Regions from separate parts of the Homo sapiens genome. Here all the other regions are linked to region 1. Evidence: promoter capture Hi-C in 16 types of primary human blood cells and fetal thymus (Javierre and others, 2016). All regions are on one chromosome and are shown on one strand. The core of a region is centred on a gene start or on the middle of the fragment in contact, and the rest is flanking DNA. Distances in the headings are between cores, read along the strand shown.

What was found. The method cuts DNA at HindIII sites, captures the fragments that hold promoters and counts their contacts. A CHiCAGO score of 5 or more calls a contact.
Region 2: a fragment that was not itself captured here is called in contact with the fragment with the promoter of CNTF in region 1 in 3 of 17 cell types (naive CD8 T cells, monocytes and naive CD4 T cells); the score reaches 8.3 in naive CD8 T cells.
Region 3: a contact is called between a fragment that was not itself captured here and the fragment with the promoter of CNTF in region 1, in 1 of 17 cell types (total CD8 T cells). The highest score is 6.9, in total CD8 T cells.
Region 4: a contact is called between a fragment that was not itself captured here and the fragment with the promoter of CNTF in region 1, in 4 of 17 cell types (total CD4 T cells, naive CD4 T cells, naive CD8 T cells and 1 more). The highest score is 7.8, in total CD4 T cells.
Region 5: a contact is called between the fragment with the promoter of DTX4 here and the fragment with the promoter of CNTF in region 1, in 5 of 17 cell types (total B cells, naive B cells, neutrophils and 2 more). The highest score is 8.8, in total B cells.

Annotation. Positions count from the first base shown.
Region 1 is chr11:58,621,357-58,623,952 of GRCh38, reverse strand. It overlaps CNTF (ciliary neurotrophic factor), which reads right to left and starts at 1,288. Exons shown (of 2, transcript NM_000614.4): 1 at 1,087-1,288. The coding sequence starts at 1,200. ZFP91 (ZFP91 zinc finger protein, atypical E3 ubiquitin ligase) reads right to left here. Exons shown (of 11, transcript NM_053023.5): 11 at 2,403-2,596. It overlaps ZFP91-CNTF (ZFP91-CNTF readthrough (NMD candidate)), which reads right to left. Exons shown (of 13, transcript NR_024091.1): 12 at 1,087-1,187. The HindIII fragment of the contact is 9,454 bases long and covers 1-2,596 here.
Region 2 is chr11:57,680,707-57,683,302 of GRCh38, reverse strand. It overlaps ZDHHC5 (zDHHC palmitoyltransferase 5), which reads right to left. Exons shown (of 12, transcript NM_015457.3): 3 at 760-881. Among named protein-coding and RNA genes, the nearest start is that of ZDHHC5, 14 kb to the right of the region's middle. The HindIII fragment of the contact is 2,243 bases long and covers 198-2,440 here.
Region 3 is chr11:57,800,235-57,802,830 of GRCh38, reverse strand. It overlaps CTNND1 (catenin delta 1), which reads right to left. Exons shown (of 21, transcript NM_001085458.2): 7 at 635-1,098. TMX2-CTNND1 (TMX2-CTNND1 readthrough (NMD candidate)) reads right to left here. Exons shown (of 21, transcript NR_037646.1): 8 at 635-1,098. Among named protein-coding and RNA genes, the nearest start is that of CTNND1, 40 kb to the right of the region's middle. RefSeq lists an enhancer at 2,079-2,318. The HindIII fragment of the contact is 603 bases long and covers 1,011-1,613 here.
Region 4 is chr11:57,818,855-57,821,450 of GRCh38, reverse strand. It overlaps CTNND1 (catenin delta 1), which reads right to left. Exons shown (of 21, transcript NM_001085458.2): 21 at 1,911-2,596. TMX2-CTNND1 (TMX2-CTNND1 readthrough (NMD candidate)) reads right to left here. Exons shown (of 21, transcript NR_037646.1): 21 at 2,271-2,596. Among named protein-coding and RNA genes, the nearest start is that of CTNND1, 58 kb to the right of the region's middle. The HindIII fragment of the contact is 1,768 bases long and covers 415-2,182 here.
Region 5 is chr11:59,170,820-59,173,415 of GRCh38, reverse strand. DTX4 (deltex E3 ubiquitin ligase 4) reads right to left here and starts at 1,284. Exons shown (of 9, transcript NM_015177.2): 1 at 610-1,284. The coding sequence starts at 820. It overlaps LOC124902601 (basic proline-rich protein-like), which reads left to right. Exons shown (of 2, transcript XM_047427951.1): 1 at 1-151; 2 at 686-2,596. The coding sequence ends at 1,494. RefSeq lists enhancers at 218-327, 1-598, 1,226-1,520, 1,607-2,147 and silencers at 668-717, 778-1,347. The HindIII fragment of the contact is 13,201 bases long and covers 1-2,596 here.

The DNA of each region.
Region 1 (2,596 bases), core at 39-2,538:
CTCACTCATCTCTCTGGCCAAGGATCCAAGTTGTAAAGTAAATAATATGTCTACAGTAGGAACTCTTAATTTGGGCTCTATGACTGGACTTTAGAAAGACCCAATACTGCCTGAAATTGACTACCTATGGATTTTTCTTAGAAGAATGTTCAGATTTTATTGAGTTCTAAAGGTTGAAAACTGATTTAGAAGAATTTTTCCTTCTCACTTCAAACTCTCTCATTAACTGGAATATTTTAATCATATTAAAGTATTTTTAAACATACTTGTAAAAGACACTGGCCACAACTAGGAAAACTTGGAATATAGCCATTGTAGAATTTCTCTAACTTCCCTCTCCCCATTGAGCACTCCCAAAGAGTCTGATTTCTGTCTGGTGAGGCTGTACAAAGATAAATCAGTTCTCAGCCTAAATTCAAAACTCTCCACAGGGGTTGGAGTATTTCCACAGCATATCTCAGGTGGAAATTGATGGGGATCCCCTTACTGTTAGAAGACAAATCTGGAACTCCAGAATTAGCTCAAGAATTTGACACTTCCACAAGTTTCCAATGAATCTTCTAGGAGATCCTTTTGATAGCTTACCTTTCTCTTTAGACACAATCTACTTTTGATGCAGAATACTAAAAGGTGGGTGGCTAATGCTATATAGGAGAAATTGGTAGGATTTACAAATTCCTCCCACGTTCATAGTACTCTTCCTATCCCATAAACCTTTCATTTACATAGCTAAAAAATTCAGAACAATGGCTATGAAGAACCCAGAGGGCCCATGGCTAATCTGTTCTAGTAGTATTCAGAATATATGCCAATAAATTTGGAATAGCCTCCAAGACATATAAACCAATCCTTTCTAGAACTCCATATATATTTTCTCATTCAAGTAACTTCATCTCCTAAACAGCCCAGAGGAAGAAAATAAAGTCACATGGGTTTCCTCAAGGGAAGGGCCCATGTCAAATAACCTATATGAATGACTATATGATTAGAGCTTTCACAATTGGTAATGGAGCTGATGCGTGATGGTAAGTTGCTGGATCAAAAAAGATGAAGGGAAAACAGATAACAGCAAAATAGGCAACTTACATAGGATTCCGTAAGAGCAGTCAGGTCTGAACGAATCTTCCTTGCTAGCCAGATAGAGCGGCTACAGAGGTCCCGACGGTGAGGGGTCAGCGGTGAATGCTCTGTGAAAGCCATCCCTTAACTCAACTGTCCCAGGAAACAAGTCAGCTGGGTTTACTTCTGTCTATACTGGTCCAAATAAGAGATGTGACTCTCAAAGACTAAACCCACTGGGCATTCTCTACTAATGGGATTGTGCACCCCACCCCCACGCCCTGCCTGACTCAGAGGAGGTAGCAAATTCCTGGCTGTGGATTTTTGTGCCTGTGGAATCAAAGGGCCCTTTTTAATCAGATTTTTTTTCCCCTGCAGCGTCTGCCTCCATCTCTCTCCTCCACTCAGTACTTAGCACACTTGTTTCTATGTCATTGTTTTGCTTTTGCACTTAGCAACAAGGTCACTATCATACCAATCCTCATGGCACCCCTGCCTAATGTAATCTATCTCACACACTTAGAATTAGTTCATTTTATTATCATTCTCCCTTATGCTTCCCATGTCTTTTTTCTCATAGGCTGGCGAAATGTTCATTCAATAAAATTGTTATTGACACAGCTGCCATTTATTAAGTATCTACCATGGGTCAGTCAGTAAGCTAAATACTTTAAAGCAATTCCATTTGATCTTCAGAATATTTCTGAGGTAAATGTTATTTCTCCATATAAGAAACTGAAACTTCAAGAAATAACATGCACAAAATCAAGTAACGAGGCTTGAATTTAAATAGAAGTCTGATTCTATAGTTGTCTCTCCCACTGACTTTCCAATTTCATTTTCTGTTTAGGTAGTTCACATCTTGTTCAAGAAACAAAGGGTGTGTGAAGTCCTTTAAAAACAGGATTTTTTTCACTCCTAACCTTACGTACTTTTTAAAGGTAATTTAATTTATACTTAAAAATCAAGCAAGGAAGCATCTCTAATTTCAATCACGGTGCCTTCCTGGTAGCTACATAGGAGGAGGAAGGTACTGTTTAGGCCTGTTCTCTTCCAAAGAACAGGAAACACCCAACGCTAACTTGGTAACATTTCTAAAGCAGTCTCACTCAAGTGACAACATGCTTTCCTTTTTTCTCCCCTACCCAGTCATACCACATGCTTCTTAAAATAAGAGAATGAGCTGGGCTTTGAAATGACAGTATAAAAGTTAAAAGGTACTTGGAGGGTTGTCATTCTATTGCATTTAACTTAGAAAATGATGCTTATTGGGTAAGGGCTAAATGAAATAATTAGCTTTCATTATTTATATCATAGATATTGCCAATAAGCTGAAACACATACCATCTTAGAAGCAAATTTATAAAAGTAAACAATAAATGGGAGATGTAACAGAGCAGCCTGGGCAGCTATCACAGCATGGCTTTTGGAAGGCAGAAGGATTATAGTTTTTTCTTTTTTAAAATAAAAATCAGTACTTGATATAAACATTCAATTTTGAGAAGAAGTATTAATATTAAATGCTATCAAGGTTTTG
Region 2 (2,596 bases), core at 70-2,569, 940 kb after region 1:
ATTTTTCTAAAAGGAATTCTGATGTTGAGTCCTCCAATTAAAGACCTCTTCCTATCCAAAGGAAAATGTATGATCTATTTAACTTAGTATGTAAAGTCCTTGACAATTTGGCTCTGGGTTTACCTCCCATCCCTCTGGTCACACCATGCATAACATCCTCTAGCCCCACTAAGTTTGCCATTTCATGGCTACAAGCTTCTGCATGTGCTGTTTCCTCTGCCTAAAAATGCCCTTCCCTCCTATATTCTACTTGGTAAAGTCTTTCCCACCTATTTTCAGCAGCATTTCCCCAATTTATTTGGGCAAAATATGTTCTCATATTTCTTTGTTCTCAATTGTTTGTATTCTCACAGAACCTTGCTCTTGCCTCCATTATAGTCTGCATCACACTGTCATAACTGTCTTAATTCACTGTGGGTATTACTGTACCTAAAAATAGCATCCAACCCATATGCTTTAAATAAATTTCTGCTGAACAAATCACTAAAACTCAAAGATTTGACCCAAAGTGAATCATAGGACTAGAAGTTATGACATATATTCCTAAAGACCCTGACCTGATTTTCATCATCAGAAAATGATAAAAGTATCCCAAAATCCCCGGACTTTAAGGCCCAAGATCAACTGCGTATGCCCAAATCATTATTTTTCATATCCCAAAATCCCAGGACTCTTAAGGCCCAAGATCAACTGTGTATGGCCAACTCATTATTTTTCAAAGGCAGTGTAAGGTGCTTCTAAGAGAGAAGCAGATCTTACCTCGAGGGAAAATCCCTGGGTCCATGAAGGTGGCCATGCTGAAGTTGGCCAACACAAAGAGAAACATAATTGCATTGTAGATGGGCACTGCAGGTGACACATACAGGCTTAGTCCTGGACACCTGCACAGACAATAAAGAAAATGAGGGGTTGCCTCTAATATTTTGGACACGAACCATACATACAAAAATCTGTAAAGACTTAGCCCCTTACCTATAGATAAATCTTGTGTGGTTTACCTTTGCCATCCCAAATTATTATCTTTATCTTTCCCACTAAGTGAGTCTAGTTTCCTATGGGAACTGCTCACTTTAGATAAAAGTACAAGACTCAGAATCTCTCCCATCTTAACCTGTTGCACTAAGGTCTTTGTGCTTCAGATTCATTCCTACCCTGTGGATCTTGCCACATGTTTTGAGATCTGTCCTTATCTCCTTTCTAACCAGACATGAGAACCAGGTACTGACTATGATATCAGCTACACTCCCTTCTCTGGAGCAGCCTGAGGTTTCTGGATCCCAGCTATGTCCCATTGACCTGCACATTGGCCCAAAGCATGGGATACCACCTACCTTTCTAGCCCCCGCCTCCCCCTTGCCAGGGGACTGAACCACATAAGTGCCTAAAGTATCTCCATTGCATTGGATATGCCTGAGAGTTTACTCAACTACAGGCCAGTTCTTAAGGTTGGGAAATTCTTTTAAAACACACAGATGAGAATGGATATCAAGACACAGAAGTAAACCCTTTGATGTCTAAAAATGAAGCAGGAATGGGGGAGGATAGAGACTATCAGACCAAAGAAGCCCTCAATTTTGTAGGAAAAAGAAACTACCCAAACATACCCAGTATTCCACAGCAGTCAACTCAAGATATGCTTTAAGGTAACTTTTCTTGATCAAAAAAACAATTCTCTAGTCCAGAATTAAACTCAGTTTCTTTCAGGATTTGAATCTACGTAGGAATGCTTCAAGAGCTCTTCCTTTCTCTGCTGATTTCCTGGGAGCTGGAAGTTTTGGAAGAACCTGATGTGCTACTTTTTTGTCAGTAGTATCAAACACTCTCGTCTCAGCTCAGGGAGAAGTTCCCACTACCAAGACAGTGGATAAATACTCTAATCTACTTTGTGGCTGAGAACTTAATCTCCAGAATGAGGACAGCATCTGTCCTTGTCCCCTTTATCTGAACCAGTCAAAGCAAAGGAAGAACTCACTGAAGGAAAGGAAGAAGAGGACAGGAGAACAAGACAGCATATGATTCCAGAGAATTAAACCACAGCAGTCTGGGATTCTGTGAAGAAAAGGTATCTGCACCCACCAAAACAAAAAGCACAGCCCTGAGACTGACTCAGAGCAGTTTGGAGGAACTCAGTTCCTTAACGAGATACAAGCAAATCAAGATAAGAGACAAAACTGTCACAAAGCATCTCACAAATCTTTACCACCACCATCTATTTATTCAAATTCCATTCAGCCATTCATTTTGAAAAGTTTTTAGTATTTATTATATGCCAGGCTTTTTAGATAGTAAATATCCATTAGCTGTTTGGTTCTCTTGATATGTCAGTACACAATTAGCAGACAAAATAACGAAGCTGGAGCAAGGGCATCAATTTTAGGGACTAAACAGACCTTCAGTCATAGTTCTATACTATCCTCAAAGAAAGCCCCCCATGGAAGCTTCTTCCTCTGTGAGTTCTTTGGTTCAGAAAAGATGTCTCCATACATTGGCAGGGTTTGGAGTGGAATATAAGCAAAAAGAAGAGTTCCTGCACCGCCTCACCCCAAAGCCTGACCTCCTAGGTTCCTTAAGAAGGAGGGAGAGAAACTGAAAACCA
Region 3 (2,596 bases), core at 63-2,562, 820 kb after region 1:
CTATACTACTTTTTCTTTATTCCTTTCCCTTGGAATGCTGATTATGCTCCACAAAATTTTGTTTTATTCACTAACGGATCACACAAATAGATCACAACCCACAATCTGAAAAACTACTGCTCTAAATAAAGCAAGAACCACAAGCTTAAATGTCTATATGGGTCAAGCCGGTGAGTCAAGAGAGGAAGATAATTAAAAGAAATTACAAGCATGTGAAAAAATAGCAGTTGACAGCTCCATGTTTGGGAAACAACTTCCTAAACAGCTGTAGTTGGTCAGATAATAGAATGTGTTGGAGATTAGTGTAAATTAGAGAGCACATGCTCCAATCAGTTCAGACCAAATACTGCTAAGGAAGAAAAGAGATCCATTGTTAACAACTCTTCCACGTTTTTAATAGAAGCCAAGAATCTGGAATTTTAAGTGAAATCTTCTGAATTTTAAACATCAGCAACCAGTTCTTTAAAATTTCAATAATGCTGTGTGATCCAAACAAATCTGTGAGATGGATTTGACCCACAGCCACCAGTTCACAACCTTTCATCAAAAGTAAAAGGTCTGGAAATCCCTCTAGTTCTCAACATCACTAGAGAGTAACACTGACTTAGCAATTTTCCTTAGGCCTAGAACTCACCGGTAATAACTTCAGTAAGGTCCATATCACGAGCCTTTCGAAGCAATCGCACAAGGGCAGGCACACCATCACAGTTTTTTATGGCAATCTTGTTATCCTGGTCACGTCCAAAAGAGATATTCTTGAGAGCTCCACAGGCTCCAAGGTGCACTTCCTTTTTGGGATGGTCTAACAATCCCACCAGTACTGGGATGCCCTTGAGCTTCCGCACGTCAGTCTTCACCTTGTCATTGCGGTAGCATAAGTGTTGCAGGTATGCAGCTGCATTGGACTTGACAGCATCCAAGCGGAATCCAAGCATGGCGATCACCTCTGGCAGCTCTGGCTGTCTCCAATTAGGAGGTGGAGGCCCTCCTTTGCGCAGGCTATCCAAGCTTGCTAAACTTCCTCGCTCATGCTGGGCCAAAGGAGCCCAGTAGTATTGATCCGATGGCACCTCCTCACCAATCATGTCTTCATAGCTCCTGAGAAGTTTTGGAAGAACCAAGAGAATACATCAAGTCATTATGGCTAGCTTCCTGGACATTCCCATTACCCTCATCTGCAAAGGAGGATTAACTGGAGTTTCAGTGTGCTCATCTTATCTCTCCTTTGCATGAATAATATACTGATCAATTTTCCTCAATGGGTTAGTAAAAATAAAAGGTAATAATTTTAAAAACACCTGCAATTTAATTAAAACTACATTTTTTTCTTTGAAGTCTGCAGGCTTAGAAAGTAACAAGCATTCAGGAAAGGCTAATCAAAAAGAAAGAACCAAATCCTTACTACTTATCATTTATTTGAATGATATCTGACAGTTATTAACTTGTCTAGGTAGAGATCAGGATAAACTCTCAGAGAACAGAATTAACCAAAGCAACTGACTCAATGCCACAGAAGTCTGAGAACAGTTCCTTAACCAAACAGGAAATTAGGCATTTACACACAGGAAACAACTGGTAGGATAAGACCTTTAAATACATTTCATATTTAAGCTTCTCCTTATCCTATTTTGGAAATTATAAAAGATGGATTGATAGAGAAAAACTAATAAAGGGCTTCCTGCTACATCACAGGAGGATCTGGCTTTGGTACTGATGAGGTATAAACTTGAAAAGTAATTTTCACAGTCATTCCAAGGTCATGTCTGCTACTCAACAAATGTGTTAAGAGGTAAGATTCCATCCTCCAATTTCTAAAGACAATACCTCCAGCTCTTTCAAAATGAAGCCTATTCACCAACATCACATTTGGGAAGCCCAGCCACTAGGAACAGAGAAAGCAATTGAAAGTAAGAAAAATCAAACCAGGAGACAATTCTTCCTGTTTCAGTACTACCAACAACCACTAGAGGGTGAGTCTGTCACACTATTATTTATTCGTAACTACCAGGAAGGAAGAAACCCATTATCTGTGAGCTCATCTCTTTCTGGCTCCCACAGGAGAGGATAATCTATTGTGTGGAGCTCTCCAAATAAGCCATTGTTTGTTCTACAAAACCACTCCCACTGTCAACAAATACTCAAGGTTGCCCTGAGCAGAAGGCCTGCCTCACAGGTATCAACATCAACTATGCAACAGTGATTCAGATGGACAAAGCATTTAGTAAACCATGACCAAGATGGTCTTAAAATAACACGGAAACAGGACCAGGCATGGTGGCTCACATCTGTAATCCCAGCACTTTGGGAGGCTGCAGTGGGCGGATTACCTGAGGTCAGAAGTTCGAGACCAGCATGGCCAACATGGAAAAACACCATCTCTACTAAAAATACAAAAATTAGCTGGGCATGGTGGTGGGCACCTGTAATCCCAGCTACTTGGGAGGCGGAGGCAAGAGAATCGCTTGAACCCAAGAGGTGGAGGTTGCAGTGAACTGAGATTGTGCCACTGCACTCCAGCCTAAGTGACAGAGCGAGACTCTATTTCGAAGAAAAAAAAAAAAAGGTCAAGATTAAACCCTTCAAATCAAGAAGGGGG
Region 4 (2,596 bases), core at 49-2,548, 800 kb after region 1:
TCAACCTATCTTACCTCCTCCAGCTTTCTCTTCATCCATGTCTGTCTCTAAATCCTGGATGGATCAGTTGAAGAACTAATGCTTTAAGTGACACAGGCAACAGAACAGTCTTAAAGCTGTGTGAAAAAAAATTGTTCCTAACAATTATCTTGTTTCTTTTTTGAGCTTTCCTGAGGTAGCTCTTTCTGGAAGCTACCAGAGTGATTTAAGTTTCCAGATGTGGTCTCCTTGGCTTTAGCCAATGGGGCCACTTGCTCGCCAGTTGAGATACCCTTTGTAGCTAGAAGTGACACTTAAGTCAAAGTCGGCAATTCCAGGGGATTCTCTGTGACCTACAGGACCCCAAATTAAGGGCTAGCTTCCTGCCTCAGCAACCTGAGCATTACCTACATATGATTTTCAGGATGAGAAGCTTCTCCTACCCAGATACCACACACCAACCTATCACTTACCATTATCTCAAACTCTATTGAAAGCAATGCATTCCTTTGAGATAAAGTTTCCTCTATGAATGCTCTCTTAAAATGGTGATCACCACATCATATTGTCTACATTCACCATGCTAGTATTACTGCCAGTGGAGTTGAAGCCAGTAATCCTGGGTTCCACTTTGAGGCTATAACCTTAAGCAAGTCACTAGATCAGTCCCTTAAGTCACAGTTAACTGACCACATACATCAGAATAACCTGGATGGGCCAGGCATGGTGGCTTATGCCTGTAATCCCAGCACTTTGGGAGGCCTAGGTGGATGGATCACCTGAGGTCAGGAGTTCAAGACCAGCCTGGCCAACATGGTGAAACCCCGTCTCTACTAAAAATACAAGTATTAGCTGGATGTGGTGGCGGGTGCCTGTAGTCCCAGCTCATCAAGAGGCTGAGGCAGGAGAATCGCTTTAATCCGGGAGGCAGAGGTTGCACTGAGCTGAGATCGTGGCATTGCACTCCAGCCCGGGTGACAAGAGTGAAATTCCGTCTCAAAAAAAAAAACAAAAACAAAAACAAAAAAAAAGAGGATAACCTGGATGACTTACCATGATTTTAGATTCCTCAGTCCCACCTACTGAATCGATTTTTGGAAATGGAACATGGGACTCTGCATTTTCAACAAGCATACAGGGAATTCTTATGTAACTTGCTCAGATATACAGGGCTAGGTCTAGTCAATTCCATCTATGAAAATATTAAGAACCTTTGCTTCAGATATAAAAATAGACAAAATGAGAAAAAAATGATATGGAAAGACTGGTTCTTAGTTCTTCCTGGGTGAGGTGATTCCAGTTTGTAGCAAAGAAAATTAGTTCAGCAAGAAAAACAAGTGGCCGGCCATGCGCAGTGCCTCACACCTGTAATGCCAGCACTTTGGGAGGCCAAGAAGGGTGGATCACTTGAGGTCAGGAGTTTGAGACCAGCCTGGCCAACATGGTGAAATCCTGTCTCTACTAAAAATACAAAATTAGCCAGGCGTGGTGGTACACACCTGTAATCCCAGCTACTCGGGAGGCTGAGGCAGAAGAATCGCTTGAACCCAGGAGGCTGAGGTTGCAGTGAGCCGAGATTGTGCCCCTGAGTGACAGAGCAAGACTCTGTCTAAAAAAAAAAAAGTGGCCAAGTGAGGTCCCAGCTTTGACCTCTGTCACAAAGTACATCAGTGTCAAGAAACTTGTGAGATAGGGCCTTTACACATCATTCTGTGTAACATCTCATTGTATTTAGATATGGCACAGAGAGAAGTGTTTTTAAGATCATAGATCTTGTCTATGGCCATATCACCCTGAACGCACACGATCTCGTCTGATCATAGATCTTAGCTATAGAGGATTCTCATGGATTGCAATCTATGAGAAAAGATCCATCTGTTTCACTCTCTAATCTAAACCTAACCTTGACACAACGCTTAGCATATAGGAGGTGCTTGGCAAATATTTATTGAATGAGATAAACAAATGGACCAATCCAGAAGGAAGAGAGAAGAGTAGGGTTTGTATCTAGCTCAATGCCAAAGGATAAGAACATAACAGGGAAATAAAGTGTTGCTGACAAGCAGCCAGGCTTTTCTATTTAGATAAAAATCATCTCAAGCAGGGCTATCAAAACTCTTTGGAAAGTAAACTCTTAATAGCTTTTTGGCTTTGTACTTCAACCTCTAATCTAACACTACAATTGTTAGACACAAATCAAGCTTTAAAAGCTAGTTGATTTCCTGGTCTCACTAGCCCATGAAAGTTTTCATACCCAAGTCCTAGTTCAATAAAACAAGACAGGACCATCATCAGGAGCAGCTATATAATTTTAATCTAAAGATTTGGGCATACAGAAAGCATTTCACATAAATTCTCTTGAGTCTTTAATTATATGACAGGACATAAGGACCTCAGAAAAATAAGTATCTTCCCATAGATCTTAACCCTTGATCTCTGCAGCAAAGATAGTCCCTGGTAATCCAGGTAATATGGTCTGTAAAATATTAATAAATAGGCCTATTGACTTCTGACTAAAGGACTGCATATAGCCTGAGAAGCAACATTATGGCCCAGTGGTCAGTACTTATATACATGGGCCTTTTGATCCTACATTTTCCTATTACGTAGTTGGGAT
Region 5 (2,596 bases), core at 35-2,534, 550 kb before region 1:
AGTCTCTCCTCCCAGGGAGCCCGGCGCTTCCCTTACCCGACTGTAGCGAGAACCTCCGGGGAATCCCTTCTTCCTCCCCCAGTTCCCACACCCAGGACCCAGCTGCGGGGAGGCATCCCACACAGGAGACGCAGAGGCAGTGAGATCGGGGGTGAGGGGACGTGTGGCAAGCCCCAGCGTGCCTGAAGCAAAACAGGGTCAGGTCAGCCAAGGTGCCGGCCGCCACGGGATGAGGGCAGGAAGCCTTTGCGAAGGGCTGGGATTGCCTGTAGTCTGGGGCGGCCCTAGAATTTCTACATAGAAAGACTTAGGGCCACCAACTGCTGAAAAGCGGGGGCATGAAAGGGGTGGGGAGTGGATTGTTACCGACTAGGTTGAAGCTGGGTTTGCAAAACCACAACACTGATACTATTTGCATGGATGTTTAAGGGGGAGGGAGGATCCTGCGAGGATTCAGCGGAGTGAATCGCCTCCCACCACCACCTCTTGGTGACACTGCTGCACAGAAGTGCCGACTAGGTGGCCAAGGTGGGTTCACAGGGAGGGAGGTACCTTGGCAGGTTGGGAAGGTGGGAGCAGGCGGGGCGGGGTCAGGGGCGGCTGGCTCACCCGTGTCTTGGCGGAACTGGTTCATGGACTGCAGGTCGATGATGTAGGGCGCGAGACGGCTGTCCACCTGGCCCAGCACCACGCTGCCCCCCGCGCGGGGGCCGGCGCGGACCACCGCCTCGATGTGGTGGCTCACCGCTGGGCTGTAGGGACGCCAGCGGCCGTGCTCGTTCAGCCATTCCCAGACCACCACGGCCGAGGCCAGGAGCATGGCGAGCCCGGGGCTGCGGCGCTGCGCGGCCCGCCTCCCGGGCCCCGAGCGCCCGACCTCCTCCGCTTCCTCCTGCGCCGCCGCCTCCGGGCCTCGACCGCGCCCCCTGCCCCGCGCCCCGCCGCCCCGGGCAGCCTCAGCTCCGGCCCATGGGCTCCTCCCCAGCCGTGCATCCACCGGGGCCGGGACACCGGGGCCGCCTGGCTGGGACCGCGCGCCGCCGCCGCCGCCGGGGTCCGCTGCTGCTGCCGCTGCTCTGTGGGGTCGAGTCGCTTCATGCAAATGCCCGGCTCTCTGCAAACAGGCCCCCGCCTTGCAAAAGCCACTCGGCGGGCGCGCGGCCCGAGCCCCGGCGGCCGCGAGCTGGGGCTGACGGCGAGGCAAGGACCCAGCCCTCGCACCAGTTGCGCCTCGGCCTCTGCAGACGCCGGGGTGGGATCTCGCCGCACGGCCGCGCTCGGAATGGCACGCTCTGGTCCCCTCCCCTCTCTCCCTCCCTCCCCACCCCTTCGCCGCACGAATTGCAGTCCCCGCCGCTGGGAGAGCTCCCCCTGCCTGTGGCTCTGCTCAGTTCCTTCCAGAATGAACCACCCCTCCCAAGCAGGGCGCTAAGGCAAACCCGCGCCCGCGTGTGTTTCCCTGGTTCCTTGATGCAGAGAAGCGACCCGCCATGACACGGCCCCGGGACCACCACTGTCGCCCAGCCGCAACTTTGCAGCCTCCTTCCCCCAAATGTAATTTTCTCTCTCTCTCTCTTTTTTTTTCCTTAATGCAGCATGATCAGTGTCCGCAGCGCGAACTGGAGACACGCATTGTCTCGGGGCTTGCGCACGCACTGGCACACTCACAGTCGCACACACACGCGCGCGCACCCCAACTCCTTCCTTGCCCCGGCTCCTATTACCTCATCCTCTCCCGCATCCTTAGCTGTCCGTCAAGGAAGCAGAAGACACGCCCCCTGCTGCTCGGGCGAGTGCCCTGGAGCTTACCCGCCCCCTGCTGGCCTAAAGTGTCGTGTGCCGGCCAGTGGCCACTCCAACCTCTGCTAATGAGACCCAGTCCAAAGGGATGCAGCAATTTCGCTAATGATGGATTTATATTACCTACGTAGAGAGCAAATGTGGTTTTTCTGGCCAGATTCAACGTACTAGAGTCAGGAAGACGCATGTTAGATTAATTTTATCTGCATCGTTTCTGTAACTAAAATTATGAAACACTAGGAAAAACACGAGTTAGACTTATTTTGATCATCAATAGTTAATATGGAAAATAACCTTAAATAGGTAGGTTCTGACTAAAAGGGAAGACTGAAGTCAGGATTATGCATTATCCTTGTCAAAGAACACAAATTTTGTTTTGTTGAGATTGCAAACCACATAAAACAACGAATCGAGTCTTATCAAGATCCAAGTTATAGGATGCGGGAAAGTAAAAATAGATTATGTGTTAGAGAATGGGATTGTGAATCTTTTTGAAATAATCAATTTTTTCATAAATATCATATGACCCTTTTATGTTTTAGAAGAGTTGCTTCCCCCTCCCTCTCCTTGCAGCTGTCATTTCTCCCATTGTTAGAATTTTGCATCCTTCTACCTTTATCTTTCTCCCAACAGAGTTCTAAATACAAAGCAAAAGAAAAAGTGTGAGATCTGTTCTTCTTCAGGCCCCTAAAGGCACCAGGCTCAAGGAACCTCTGAGCTTTGTTCTTTCTGGTCTTCTTGCACAGCTTGGCCTCCAAAATGCCTAGTCGGCCTCTCCCTTATTTGGGGACTGTTC